Linked DNA regions of Homo sapiens: region 1 is linked to region 2. Evidence: promoter capture Hi-C in human tissues and cell types (Jung and others, 2019). All regions are on one chromosome and are shown on one strand. Each heading gives the region's core, a stretch centred on a gene start or on the middle of the fragment in contact. The rest is flanking DNA. Distances are from core to core; before and after follow the strand shown.

What was found. Contacts are between HindIII fragments. The study calls those that stand out against the background at their distance.
Region 1: a contact is called between a fragment that was not itself captured here and the fragment with the promoter of STC1 in region 2, in 2 of the 25 tissues and cell types used here (liver and thymus).

Annotation. Positions count from the first base shown.
Region 1 is chr8:23,770,109-23,777,602 of GRCh38, forward strand. All of the region lies in intron 3 of LOC107986930 (a long non-coding RNA gene), which reads left to right. Among named protein-coding and RNA genes, the nearest start is that of NKX2-6, 67 kb to the left of the region's middle. The HindIII fragment of the contact is 7,348 bases long and covers 664-7,494 here.
Region 2 is chr8:23,852,882-23,859,935 of GRCh38, forward strand. It overlaps STC1 (stanniocalcin 1), which reads right to left and starts at 1,925. Exons shown (of 4, transcript NM_003155.3): 1 at 1,525-1,925. The coding sequence starts at 1,642. The HindIII fragment of the contact is 6,962 bases long and covers 1-6,894 here.

The DNA.
Region 1 (7,494 bases), core at 3,088-5,587, 80 kb before region 2:
AAAAGCTCAAACATCTGACCAGTAAGAGCCCAGAAGGAGAAAATGGAAAGTAGAAGGGGTTAGTTATCAAATAAATGAGAACAAAGTTTTCAAGTCTTCTGAAGACCTGGGTTTCCAAACTGAAAGAGCAAGTGAGTGCCTAGCATAATAGATGAAAAACAATTCACACATAAAGTACATCATGGTGAAATATCAGGACTCGAATGATAAAGAGTAGTTTGTAAAAGCTACCAGAGAGGAACAGGTTATATACTAGGGACCAAGAATCAGAATATCATACACATCTCTACAGTTTGGAAATGGTGCAGCAGTGCCTTCAACATTCTGAGGGAAAATGATTTCCAACCTAGAGTCCTAGTCCTAACAAAATGACCATTCAAGAGTGAGAGTAGACTTGCAAGATCTCAAAAGATGTTCTTTCCCTGCACTTGTTTTCAGAAAGCTACTGTAGGATGCAATCCACCGAAACAAGGATATAAACCAAGAAATAGAAAGACTTAGAATCTAGGAATCGGGGTCTCTAAAACTGGGAGAAGCAAAGAAAAAATTAACAGATGGTAGCAAAGGAAAACCTCAGTATGACAGCTGGACAGTCAGCCTAGGCAGTAATCCTTCCATATGGAACTGATGATGGAGGGATTATAGGAGACACAAATATTAAGCGGTGGATTCCCTCGTGTGTTTTACTGTATTGAGAAGAGTTTTACTGTTCTTTTGGAAAGTGTGGGACTGAACAGGGAAAGAAAGATTAGGAAAAAATATGTAAAAACAAAATGTGTACAAGGAAAAACATAGTACACTAAATGTATGATATATATATATATATAGACATATCCATGTGAATATTGATTGATAATTTAACCACTAATTATGGTATAACAATATGGGGAGGATGAAGGAAGGGGGAAAGGGATGTTTGTATGTCTGATGGGAGATGGTGAGCAGTTGGTAGAGAGAGCTTGATCCTCATCTTCCATGCTAGGGAAATATAATATTTAAATATAAAAAGTTAAAGTATAATGTACATATGTTATTTAGAAAAACAAGGATTATGGAAAAATATCTTTAAAATTTGTTAAGCCTTGCAGCATTATTTAACTTCAAAAGCTATGCTTATGCATTCCTTTGATTTAAAAAATGAATGAAAAGTATTTCTTGCACAGCTTGGCTATGCAGAGCACCATCTAGAAGTGGGATCTTGAGTCACAGTAACTATTTTCTTTTTTTAAAGTTGAGAGGGGCTTAAATGCAATTGTAAGCTAAAATCTGAGGGAAGATAGAGATAGAAGATACAGAAAAAGAGGGAGAATTAATGTTTCAGGGATGGTCTCTAAAGCAAAAGTGGATGGAAGAATGAACTTTAGAACACTGTTTGGAGAAGAAGCGGTAGGTACAGAAACACTTAGGAAGCCGAGGGAGATCTTGCCTGAGGCATCCTGTTTTTGGTGAAATAAGAGGCAAGTACCTTATTCAGAGTGGAGATGTTGTTATGGAGAGGGTTTGAAAAGAGTATTAAAGTTGGAATCATTACTGCAGAGACTGGGGAAAGAGAGCTGACTCAGGTATATAACAGGATATCTTGGCAGACCTGAGGGTTTGGCTGAGAATGGAATCTATATATTGGGAATGTCGAATCTCCCCAGCTGTAATGTTTCTTTAGTAAGTCCTGTAATCCTGGGGAACATGGATAGTTGGGATCCTGGGAGCTTGAGGGACCAGCGTAGCTCAGGGCAGGACAAGGGAGTTGAGAGTGATGGGGAGAAGTGGTTGACATTCTTCCACTTAGGGTCTGGCCTGGACAAGGGTGGAGATGAAGCAGAGGAGGGTGAAGAGCTTTGGAGGAAAGGCTTCAAGGGCCTGGGTGCTCCATGAAGCTGGAGAGTAGGGTAGGAAAAAAGAGGGAGGAAGCTGCAAGGATGGGATGTTTTCACTGGAGGTGGGCTCCAGGGTCCAAGAGGCTAATATTTTGCTAGTGGAGCAGTTGACCTTGGGACAATGAAACCAGGGTGCTGGAAGCGTTGTCCACAGGATGCCAGCAGTGCTTAAGGTGAGGAAGAAGCTAGTGATTCAGTTGCCGAAGTTTGATGACCATAATGGGATTTACTGGGAGGTCAGGACATGAATACTGTGAGAAGAGTCAGTGAGTGGTAGAGCCAGACAGCATGGGGGCCAATAGGGAGGGACTTTCAATGTGACTATGAAGATCTGGGAGAATATTCCAGCTCTAGTATATGGGGCACAGGAATGCATGCAGTCCCCGTTCTAGAGAGCTACAAAGGAAAGCAGTGATGCTGGGGAAGGGTGAGCTTTAGTCAAGGCAAGCTGATGGAGAGAGTCTCTTTCAGTAGCATACATGGGGTTTTGAGTCAGCAGGGAGGCAGAGGAGCATGGGCCAAGGTCAAAGAGGAGAGGGTGAGAGCCCTGGAATTAACTGGTTTTGAGAGCCCTGGAATTAACTGGTTTTAAAAGCTTTGAGGCTGAAACATTTTCTTTTATTGGAAGAGAAATAAAGCTACAAAAGCAGTAGGGAGAAGGGTAAGGCGTGGTACATGGACTAATCTAGCCCCTAGGAGCACCCAAAATGCAAAACAAGCAAATAAGCCCCACAGGTGCCAGGGAACATGGAGATGCCTGTGCCATTGAACTAGCTGGAGTCCTACCAATTGTCCCAATTTAATACTTCTTTATAGGACAACCCAAAACTAGCAGGGTCTGCTTAGCATGATGAAGCTCAACTTATTTGAGTGCAAGGTGCTTCTAAGAATCTTGTCTTTCTCCAGGACTAAAATCACATTGGGAGTTGTAGGACAGTATCTTGAGTGGGACTCTCAGAACTGCCCCAGATTGAGCTTCTTAAAGTTACTCTTTGTCTGCCACTAGATGCATCTTCTAGGCTTTCTCACAACTTTGCTTGGCTGCAAAATCCCCAAATAAGCCAACGTTGAATTTTGTCTCCCCACAAACCATCATTCCGTTTCCTGACTCCTGCTGGAGATAACCACACAACTCTGTGGATTAACATCACTACAAAGGCCTGAAGGCTTGCTTTCTACTTTGTCAAGAAAAATGGAAACCAAAGGGCATGATTTTCTTCAATATATTTAAATCTTCCCAGAATCTTTTCCAATGTACCTGCAGCTCTGGTTTCCTTGCTGTTTTCTGCCGTCTCAGGGTGCACCTGTGCTCCGTGCCCATGGCCACCTGCTTTGCTGCTTTGCCTGTGCTTTTGACCACAGCTCCTATCACTTTGATACATTAACCTACCCCTCCATCTCTTTCCCTACCTTGGCCAATATCCTTGATCTTTCTGTCTCCTTGCAGTTCCTTCCTCTCAGTCTGTAAACATGGTTACTTCCTTCCCATCCTAATAATACGGATGTTCCCCTGACTCTCCTTTGACCTTGAAACCCCCTTAACCGCTTCGCAAACCATGACTGACACTGCTTTTTTGATGTCACAGCATCTCCCTAATAGCCATATCTGAAGGATTTTTTTTTGTACTGAGTTTTCTCTAGCTTTCCTCCGAATCTAATACTATGAATGACTTTCACCTTCTGAAAATGTTATACACTGGCTTCCAGAACTCCTTAGTCTCCTGATTTTTCTAGTTCCTTTCCAACCATTTATTAACACTTCCTTCAGGAGCTCCCTACCTTCTGTCCAGCTTTTTTTTTTTTTTCTTTTGAGACAGGATCTCACCCCATCACCCAGGCTGGAGTGCAGTGGCATGATCATGGCTCACTGCCACCTCAGCTTTTGGGGCTCAGGTGATTCTCTGACTTCAGCCTCCCAAGTAGCTGGGACTATAGGTGCGTGCCACCACACCTGGCTGATTTTTTGTATTTTTTCTAGAGACACGGTTTCACCATGCTGTTAAGTCTGGCCTTGAACTCCTAGGAAGAAGCAATCCACCTTGGCCTCCCAAAGTGTTGGGATTACAGGCATGAGCCACTGCATGTGGCCTTCTGCCCAACTTTTCACTGTTTGTGTTCTCTTGGGTCCTCTCCTTAGCCCATGGTCCTCCATCCTGGAAGAACTCATCGAAACCCATGACCTCAATTACGACCTACATGCTGGCAGCTTCCGGGTCTCCATGGGGACCCCCAGACATGTATATTCAGCTGCCTCCTAGACATCCTACTCAAGGTCCCACAGACACCTCAGCCCAATGTCTCCAACACTGGACTCACTCTCTCCTTAAACCAGCTCTGTTTCTGGTGATTTGAATGCCACATGCACCACCGAATGCCACCCCCCACCCGCCTATCTGCAATATCTATATCACCACCAAGACCTGCCAACTTTTCTTTCTAATTTTTAGATTTGTCTCTTATCTCCATTCCTATTAAAAACATTCTGTTTGAGTCTTTATTACTTTTCACCTTACTATTGTCAGTCTCCTGACTTATCTCTGCCTCTAATCTTGTTCCTATTCAATCTACCCTTCACACATCTGCCACGATGATGTGTTTAAAATGCTGATCTGATCACATCACTCCCCTTTCTTAAACTCCTCCAAAAGCTCCATGCTGTCTATAGGAGAAAGTTCAGACTTCCTAACAGCATGCAAAGCCCAGCACAAACCAGCCTCTCCAGATCTCTCTGCCTCCTCTGCCCTTTCTTCCTGCCTGCCCGTCTCACGTTTATGCTCTAACAACACTGGTGGCCTCAGCATTCTCAGCTCCTGCTGGGCTCCAGCTTACATCACTCTTCTGCTTAGATGGTCCTCTTGGTGAAGATGGTGCCTTTCCTCTTCCTGCCCTTTCTTTGACTATTTCATACTCACCCTTTAGGACCCAGGTCAGGTGAAACCTCCTCTGGGAAGCCTTCCTGGAGCCCTTAAACAGCTTCTGCTCAGAGTCCTCCAAAGTCTGCCAACACATGAGCACTGTGATGTAATGAAAAGAATAAGGACTGTAGAGGAAGCATGACCTGGATATAAGAGGCAGCACTGGGGCCTTGGGAAAAGTATTTTCCAATTTTGAGCTGCAGTTTTGCCATTTATGTATTGGGGATAATGATATTTCATTTATGGGGATAGTGGAAGGATGATCTTAAATAATGTACGTGTAGTGTCAGGGCCTATATTAAGTACTCAGTAAATAGCAGTTATTATTGACATCTTCATTGCTGTGTCTATTATAATATTTTTTATAACCCACATGTAGGGGGATCCTCACTTTTCATGCCTTTTAATTCTTGTTCTTAATGCATGAAGGATTACCTGGGAATTTACTGCCTTTTGGACATGGGCTTTTCTAGGCAGCTGTTGCTAATCAATGGTGACTTTGCCTTTAGAGAGGTGCTGATTGAAGGGTAAGAAATGGATGCCTCTCCAGCCTTGGCTCTGCAGCATGATTGAGGAGCAGTTCCTATGTCTTCCTAGAGTTTTTCCAGTCTTCTTCAGACCCAACTCTGACAGTGGAGGAATATGTCATTTTTTGAGGGGCTGTGTAGATGTCAAAAGAACAAAAGAGGGTGAACTGAATGGAGACGATATCTGTATCTAATGTGCTTGTTCCCTTGTGCCTGCCCAGGGAGGGCATTACAAATGGAGGTCTTTGAAAAGTGGACATCTCAGGTGGTGCTCCCTGTTTTCTGATCTGTTTTCTCTTCCTTTTCTCCATTACCTTTCACAGAAAACTCCACGGTTCCCCATACAAAGTGTACGCCCCCAACCCCTGCACCTTACATATCTGAATGCCTCTTGCATTGGCTGAATGTTGATGGGACTTGTCCCAATTTTCATTGCTGCCTGTGGCTGGGTAGAGTTGGACTTTGATTCTCAAAATAAGGATGGAGGTGGGTGCTCTAATTTCAGTGTGATCTCTCTACAAGTTTTAACTAAACTCAAGCTCACCTTATAAAGGCAGGCAACACAGTTGAGGCTTGAGGAAAGACTATTTCTTCTCCTGGTGTGATTGACTCAGCCTATTGCAAAGCAAGAAAACCTATCATTCGTGATGAGTATTCCATTCCACCCTGGTGGCTACCAATGCCCTTAAGCCTCAGCCAGTTGTTAACAGGCTGAGCCATCACACCTAGTTAATTTTTCAAAAAATGTTTCGTAGCGATGGGGTTTTCGTATCTTGTTCAGGCTGGTCTCGAACTCCTGGCCTCAAGTGATTCTCTCTCAGCCTCCCAAAGTGTTGGGATTACACGTATGAGCCACCATGCCTGGCCCAGTAACAGGTTTAATTAGATTTCTCATAGTTTTAAAATATCCTTTCCATAGGATGGGGGAGGAGAAGTCCTACTTCATTTTGACACAATTATCTGTTAATGTGCCTGTATTGCAGAGTAGCCTGTGGGTTTCTTGAGGGTACGGGCCGTGTTTTATTCATCTCAGCTCACTCAGTCTCTCTCACAGTGCCTCTTCATGGAAGGCTTTAATAGATGCTTATTGACTATGTGAATGAATTCCAAAGTTTAATGAGAAGTTTTTTGAACTTTTCTTTCTTTTGTATAAATCTGGAGCCTCAACTTACAAGAAACTTTCCCTAGCTCAGGTCTCCCCTTCCTGGGGGGCTCAGTATCTGTAAGTCAAGTGGGCTTTGGAATTACACATCAGGCCTGTAGAACATTTCAGAAGGTGGTTGGCTATTGATATTCATTAATTAACTCAGCAAGTATTTACTGAGGTCCTGCAATGTGCTTGGAAATGCATTAGGTGCTGGGACCAAAGGAAGGGAACAAGAGAGAGAGAGCGCCCTCCTGGAATTGACAAGTTTGCTCTAAAATCTTAATCTTTAGGCAATAGGGCAAAGTGAGTTTTAATGAAAGGAGGAATATACGGTGTGATTTCAGAGGACTTTTTCCTTGCTCCAGCTTGATATTTAAAACGGACTTTAGAGTTATATTATTTAGCTCTTTAATATATAAAAGAGCTAAATAATATAACTCTTTTATATAACCTGCTGGACAGACAATATCTACTAGTATTTAACACACTTGCAGGAAAAGAGCATTGGAGGGCAGGCTTTGATTTGAGAGGAGAGAAAGACAGTGAAGCCCCCTGGCTACTATGTTTGGAGAAACAGGATGCTCCTAGTGGGGGAAGGGAGAGAATGAAGGACCTGGGGTCCCAGTGACTGATCTAGAGGAGCAGGGCAAGGCAGTACAGAGTTGACAGTCACTGGGTTCTCAGCTCTGCCACTCATGAGTGGGTTAACCTCTGGTAACATCTTCAAAATTCTAAGGGTCTGACATTTTTTCATTTATAACATGGAGATTATGACACCCACTTTTGTAAAGTTATTACTTTTTTCACTTTGACAGTTTGCCTAGATGTGTGTGACTTGTGAGCAGAGGCATTATTCTCTGTTGAAATGCAAACTGTTGAAAAATAGAAAACTATCATTGACCATAGGCACATTGGTAAGAATTGGGGTTTATCAAATAAAAGTGGTCACCTTGGAAAATAAAGGCAAATACCAAGATTATGCCTCTTGGCTAGGCCAGATGTGTATGTTGAGAAGGGAGGATAAGTGTTTT
Region 2 (7,054 bases), core at 675-3,174:
AGGAGTCCACTTGGAGACCCTTCTGATTTCAGGCTTTTAACTTACCGTCATATTGGCAAAAAGAAATCTGATCCGTTCATGTTTCACCCCAACCCTCCACTAGGACAGTGCTTAGAGGTATGCATAATCTCTTTCATATTAAAAGCCTTTTAAAAAAGAAAGAAAGAAAGAAAGAAAGAAAGAAGAAACACAGGTGTGGAATAACCAGGCCAAGGCCTCCCTATGCAAGACTGGAAGAAAACCGCAAAAAACTTGCATGAGGCTTTCTACATTCTGGATAAGATCTCCCATAAAAGTAATTTTTCTCCCACAGAAGGGGGGTGTTCTGGCAGGCAGCTAGGCAAGGAATGATCTGCAGCCTTCATGCCATAGGATTCTCCTCTGAGATCAAAAGCATGGTTCAGTTAGTCTTCCCCACCCCCTCCCACCACCCGCAGCCTCTAGGATGTTACAAGTCATTTCCCTAATTATATATTTCCACGGGTTTAAATTATAACTTTGCTTTAAGCAGTTTTAATATGCATTAGGGCTGCTATTGTTTTAGGCAAGCTCGAATTGTGAATCACTGCATCTCTATAGCAACTAAGTACAAAAGGAAGTGAAGCAAAAGCCCTCCTCTCGGCAGGGACCTGTGCTCTTCCAAGGGGATCATCATCTGCAGCATTTTGACACCTGTGATCCGGTCTTTGCTGACAGTTGGAGGACAGAGGGCAGTATTGGAAGGGGAACAAGTGGAGCCAGAGAAGTCAAGAGGCAGAGGTGTCAATGCAGGCTTCCTAATGATTCTTTTCCTTCAGAAGCCAAGATAATGCACAATTAACTGCTCCAAGAGTCAAGACGAAAGTGAGACCTTACCCTTGGAGAAACAGCTGCTACGTTTCACAATTTTTTTTTTCTAGGGGCTCTCTGGCTACGGGCTGCAGGGACGACTGAATGGAGCCCTACAGAGCCAGGAGGGAGACAGGCAGCAGGGTTGGGGGTGGGATGTATAGGGTTTTCTCTGAATCCGCCCTGGATTTGTCAGACTTGAGGGCTATGGTTCTGAAAATCAGTCTGAAGAGGGAGCTTTTCTGTGTATTCTCTTAGGTAGAGAAGTCAAGAAGTGAAGAGGTAGAGTCTTAAGAGGAAAGGAAGAGGGACAGCATCAAACAAGCCAGGTCTTACCTTAGATCAGCTTCTGGAAAGTATAGAGAGCGCTTTGAAGCATGCCAACATTCAAGCCTTTCCTCCCCTCTCACCCCTCCCCCTCCAAGAGGGTACGTGCCAGATTTCAGGCAATCAGGCTAGGCTTATGCAATGAAATACCCTCAGCAGAGCGTCCAGCTTCTTCGTTTAGTTGCATGCAATTTATTAAACAAAGGAGCTCCACTGCCTAAGGCTATTGGATTACACTGGCAGTTTATTGCCATCAGGCATGAAGCACATTTATTATCAAGATCAGCCGTCACAGACACAGTTGCAAAAGGGAGAGGCAAATGAGGACAGCTCTTTGGGGGAGAAACCGCTCTTGGGTTTGCTGCTTACCTGAGTTTTGAGCCGCCACTCGGGATTTCCTGGGGCTCACAGAGTCATTCTGCTCCGCCTCATGGGTTGCAGAAGCACTGATCACCAGCACCAGAAGCACTGCTGAGTTTTGGAGCATTCTCTGAGAAGTTTCCGCTAAGTTGTTGGGTTTTTTTTTTTTCCTGCCCCCCTTTCCTCTTTCCCTCTCCTGGCTTGAGTGAAGATGTGGATCTGGATACACTGAAAGCTTAGGTGAGGATTTGATGAGGATTTTTTTTTGTTGTTGTTGCTGGTGATGCTGCTGCTGCCACCGGTGCCTCCGCTGCTGCTGCTGCTGCCGCCGCTGCTGCTGCTGCTGCCACCGCCGCTGCTGCTGCTGCTGCTGCAGTCGCTGCTTCTTGCACCTCTGGCTTTTGCAAACTGGGGGCCCAAGAGCTGCACCCAGGGATTTTATAGCCGTTCTTATCGGTCCTCAGGATCAAGGACCAATCAGGTCCCTCAACTGGTCTGGTGAGCCAATAAGAGGGCATGCAATTCAGCTGGAGCTTTTTGACTTCTTAGAAATATTTTCCAGCAAATTAAAAGTACCTGCTGCCAATGTTTTATATGTGTGTGTGACTGTGTGTGCAGAGATGTGTGAAAAAGCTATTTTCGTGGAAGTAAGAGATAACTCTGTATTGATTGAACTAAAGAAAAATCCTATAGAAATCTCTCCAAGTTGCTTTTTGAAATCTAGCCATCTTTTTTTCTAATGAGCCACTTGGGGGAAATGGATAGCAGGGGTATGGTGGGGAAATGTGATCTCTTTAGATGAGAACTTAACCTGCTTACAGCAGTTTTACTCTAATTTTAACAGCACATTCTCGGTTCTGTTTTGTAGGCTACAAATGCAATAACTCCCTATCTTCTCTGTGTGTACATGTTCACATGTCTATGATGCATTTTTGTTTGTATGTGGACATCCTGGGTTCTCACTCACACATTTGAGCCCTTGAGGGGGAATTTATGTGAGTGGAAAAGCCTTGGGGGACTGAGATATGACAGCTCAGAGCTGAAGCCTTAGTCCCCCTACTGATCAACCTATGACTCTGGCTAAGTCTTTTTACCTTGCCCCACCTCGTTTTCCCATCTGTAAAACGCCAAAGTTGGACTCTGACATTCTGTATACCTCTAAAATAATGTGATTCTTCAATAATCAAATCAACTTTGACTTCATCTTTTCAGTCACCAGCAAAATTGCATAGTCCAGGAGTGTTAGTTACCCCAGGTACACATGTGCACACCTGCACATACCACACTCAACAGGGAGACATCATGAATGCCTGAAAATTAATAATCTGTGTTCAAGCCCAGCAACTTTATAACCACTTTGAAACAATAAGCTGGCCAAAGCAAGACTAAACCTGCTGAATGGAAACCAGTTCATTTCTTGGGGAGAGGGGTAGGAAAAAAGGGGGCAGAATGGAAAGAAGGGGTAGAGAAAGACCAGAATGTGTAGGAGAGAAGAATGATAAGCTCTAGACTTAATAGGAAAATTGCACTGCAATCACAAATCATGCCTGGTATAGAAACTTATATTTTCTTATAAGTGAGTTGTAGGCAATGCTGAGGTTTGTCCCCAACATGTGAAGGAGGTTAATGAGCCAGAAGAGGACTTCTTAGGGTAGGAAGGTGGTGAAGGTATTATACAATAAAACCTTTAATAATTTTGGGGAAGTAGATGAGAAATGGCCACTGGTGATTCATACAGATTTGGGCAGGATAATCTTGCAGAGAAATGGGGCCAGTGGCTTTACTTTGCATCCTAAAACCTTCAAACAAAAGTTGAAGAAAGAGTGCCACCCCTGTTAACCACAAACTAAACCAAGTGTCAGCTCTGTGTATGTTGTGGGGTGATAGGGTGGTGGGGGGCGGGGGGGGGGGGGCGGCGGACGGTTCTGGGTGATGATAGCCTATCCCTCACAAAATAGGGTTGTTTGGTAAGTATGAAAGTTTGCTAGAAAAAGGAATAGAAGGAATAAAGGATACAGGAAATATCTAAAAGAAAGGAAGGGAATTTTCAGATTTACATTATATAACAAGAATACATTTTAATTTATATTAACAGGCAGTATTGGTATTTCTTTAGAACCTTCTGGGCTGAGTGCTAGGGGACAATGTGGGAGGATAAATGAGAAGACATAGAGAAGAAGGTAAGTTCATTATTCTTGTCCTGAAGGTACTTACAGGTGAGTTGGGAAGATGACCAGCCACAGTCATACTTCCTAAAGGTTCGGGATGTCAGGACCTCATATAGTAAGACACAGGCTCAGGCAGCACTGGCTGGAGATGGGGGGAAAGCTCTTGAGGGAAAGATCAGTGGGGAAAGATGTAAACTGCTGTTGTTGCTTTTTAAGAATTTAGGAAAAGCTATGCTATTTCATTTTTAAAAAACAAAGCTTGTATTGTGGAAAGCTTCAAGGTTATTTGTATTGCTTTAGTTAGAAGTAGTAGATGCCAGGCAAGGCAATAGAATTTCTCAGTGCTCTCTTCCAGAAAGGGAGTAAGAGGACAGATGCGTATTCCTCCCAAGGGTCTTGACTTCTGTTCTTTAGCATTCTCTACCTCCTTGGCCATTATTCATCATCTAAGGCAGTGCCATTTGTTTCTCTTGGGCTTTCCCTGAGTTGGTCTGCTTGGCTTGGTAGGGTGATGATTTACCACCAGCCATCTACTTTGTTTTTCCAACTCTCCGTTGCTCTCACCAGAACACGATGTCCTACAAGCATCAAGATGTGTTTGTGTTTTTTTTTTCTGATGTTGATTTATTATTCCTTCTTATTTTGCTCACTTACTATCTTGTGCCTGGAAGTTCATTGCTAGGTGTGCCAAGTGTTTCCCAATAACAGGTAAACTGTCCTTTGAAGAAATACAATAGTGGTCAGCCCATTGATTTGAATGTAACTAGTATGCATGCCAATGCATTTGAGAACCTTAGGGGAAGGAGCTGAAGTCTACATGAAATGCCCAGTGTAAAATTTCTGCCTAGAATGTCATGGTATGTGGATATCCAAGTGCCCTCAATCATTGTGCAACTGTCTGGAACTGTGATATAGCAAGATAAAAGGGTCTTGGGGGCCCTGGTGGTGATGTCTGGTTTCTTTGTAACTTCTCTTGGGGGTCTGAGAGAATATGGAGGAGTTTGCTTAGCGCTCTTCACAGTCTGAGTTTTATCCTGTAAGGAACAGGAAGTTATTCGGGCTCTTGAGTAGGAATTGTTAAATGATGGGTGGAAATAAGTGTTTAGGCAAGATTATTTCATCATACTTATGATGGTTTGGAGGAAGAAAAGAACAGAAGTTTTAAGACTTGTTAATAACAGAATTTTGTTGATGAGATTCTGGCCTACAATGGTTGTGGCAGGAAAGGAAGGGAGACAAATATGAGAGATGTTTTAAATGAACTGGAAATTATTAATTAACCTAAGGATTGTCTTGGGAAAAACCTTTCTCCCAGTTTAGTGGTAATGGAGATAATACACATGAGGACTTTTCCCTCCTTATATTTTAGTTATGACTTTTAGTTGACAGGACTATCTAGTGTCTCTGTTAGGCAGGTGCTTTCTGGCATACTGTTGAGCAGCAGAATTACCTAAAAAAAGGACTTGACTGCAATGTGCGCCCAAGTGCGCCCAAGTGCAGTGGGTGGGAGGGGAGGGTATACTTTGCCATTGCCCTGAGCAGGGAAAGTGCTAAGAAGTTGGTGGGAGAAGCTGCCAACACCTAAGACTGGGTGATGATGCCCTGGCTGTGCCCGTGCAAGGCTGGCATGAGTTCAGTGAGAAGATTAAGCCAAAAGTCTCTGGGGCTTTGTTGGATTTGGCTAGCTTAAAGCTAAGCAGTGAACAGCTCTTTGCCTTTTGGTGAGAGGAGCCCAAGAACAGAGCATGTTTTCTTGGTAAATGTTCGTGTGTGTGTGTGTGTGTGTGTGTGTGTGCGCACGTGTTTGGCTAACAGAATGCAAGACCCACCAAGGTTGTTTTGGCATAGTGACCAAAGTTGGACCATTTTTCTTTGGGAATTCTGAGCCTGTGTTTTTTTTGATTGGACTTTGGGCTGTTGATTCATGCCTTCCTAACCTCAAGACAAAGAAGAAGAAGAAGGAAAATGAGGAAGATGAGGGGAAAACATTTTTATTTACTCTTCTATAAAGGCACCAGATTATCTGTGTGGACAGTCCTCAATTCATGAGAAAATCTGTGCCATTTGCAAGTCTTTGATTGCTGTAAACTCTACTAAAGAAAGAAGGTGAGAAAATATATTAAGAGGGCAAACTCCCCACTTCTCTCCTTTGTTGATGGAAGGTGACTGTGTGCCTGGTTCTAGGTCAGGTGTTGTGGGAAATGCAGAGATGGTTGACCTTTGCCTGTGCTCCATGAATTCCCAAGCTAGTTCTTAAAGCATGCATGTTGTATTTGAAGAAGAATATCTGTTTTCTGGAAATACAATACAGCAAGTGGGTTGGAATAGAGTTTGTAGATTTGGATTCAATTAACATTTACTGGGTGCCTATCTGCTCTATGCCAGGCATTACTGCAGAAACTTCTTAACTGTGAGCAAAGAACTGCTCTCCTCCCTTCCCACAGGAGGATCTGGGGATCCAAAGAGAAGAATGGCTCTCCCATAGTCTTAAAGTGGATGGTAGAAAAATCTCCTGAGATTTGCTTATTACAGAAACAACTCTGGGTTCTTTAGTTGTGTGACCAGAGCAGTGATAGAGAGAGTGTACATGCTGACAGCCCTGCCCCTCAGGGTGCGGGGAGCAGGGTACAGGAAAAAGAAATAGGCAGGATGACCTGACATGCTTAAACCAGAACAGGCAAGTTGAAATTAGCCTCTACTCCTGTTAACATCTGCTTCTCATACCTTCACGTATAAGTTCCAATGTCACTTTATATCAGAGAGGACAAATTCATCATTCTAGAGCAGCCTGAAAATCTGCAAAGTTTCACATGAGGCTTCTGAAGCAAATAGGAAGAGGATTTGTGTGTCATGGAATCTGTCCTTTGAAATAGCTCTTGGGGAGACCTAAAATGACATTACTCTATTGAGACACATGAGGGCGCTCGGACCAACCAACAATGAGGATCTGTTTCCTTTAAAATTAAAAAAAAAACAAAAAGTTGTGAATGCTGGCTATGTTCGATCAGCCTTTGTTTCATGTTGTCAGGATGCTTCTGTGTTAGTGGTCTAGGGCAGTCACCTATAACTTAGCCCTTGAGCTTGCAGATTAGTGTGGTCCTGCATATTTGGAAGTTTTGCACCATATACCATTCTATGTACTATTCTATTATTGCCTGATAGGGAAATAGGTTGCAGGCAAGTTTCTTACCTGATCAGCCCCAGTCCTAAGTGAAGATCAATATCTGTACTCAAATTGTTCAAGGCAGTTGAGAGGATATGTCAGATAATACACTTGAGGTACTTTGGGCTTCTTAGTTTAAAAAGAGGATTCTATTTCAAGGTGGTAGTGAGCATTCCTCTTCATTACTAGAGAAAAAGAAACCTTTCAT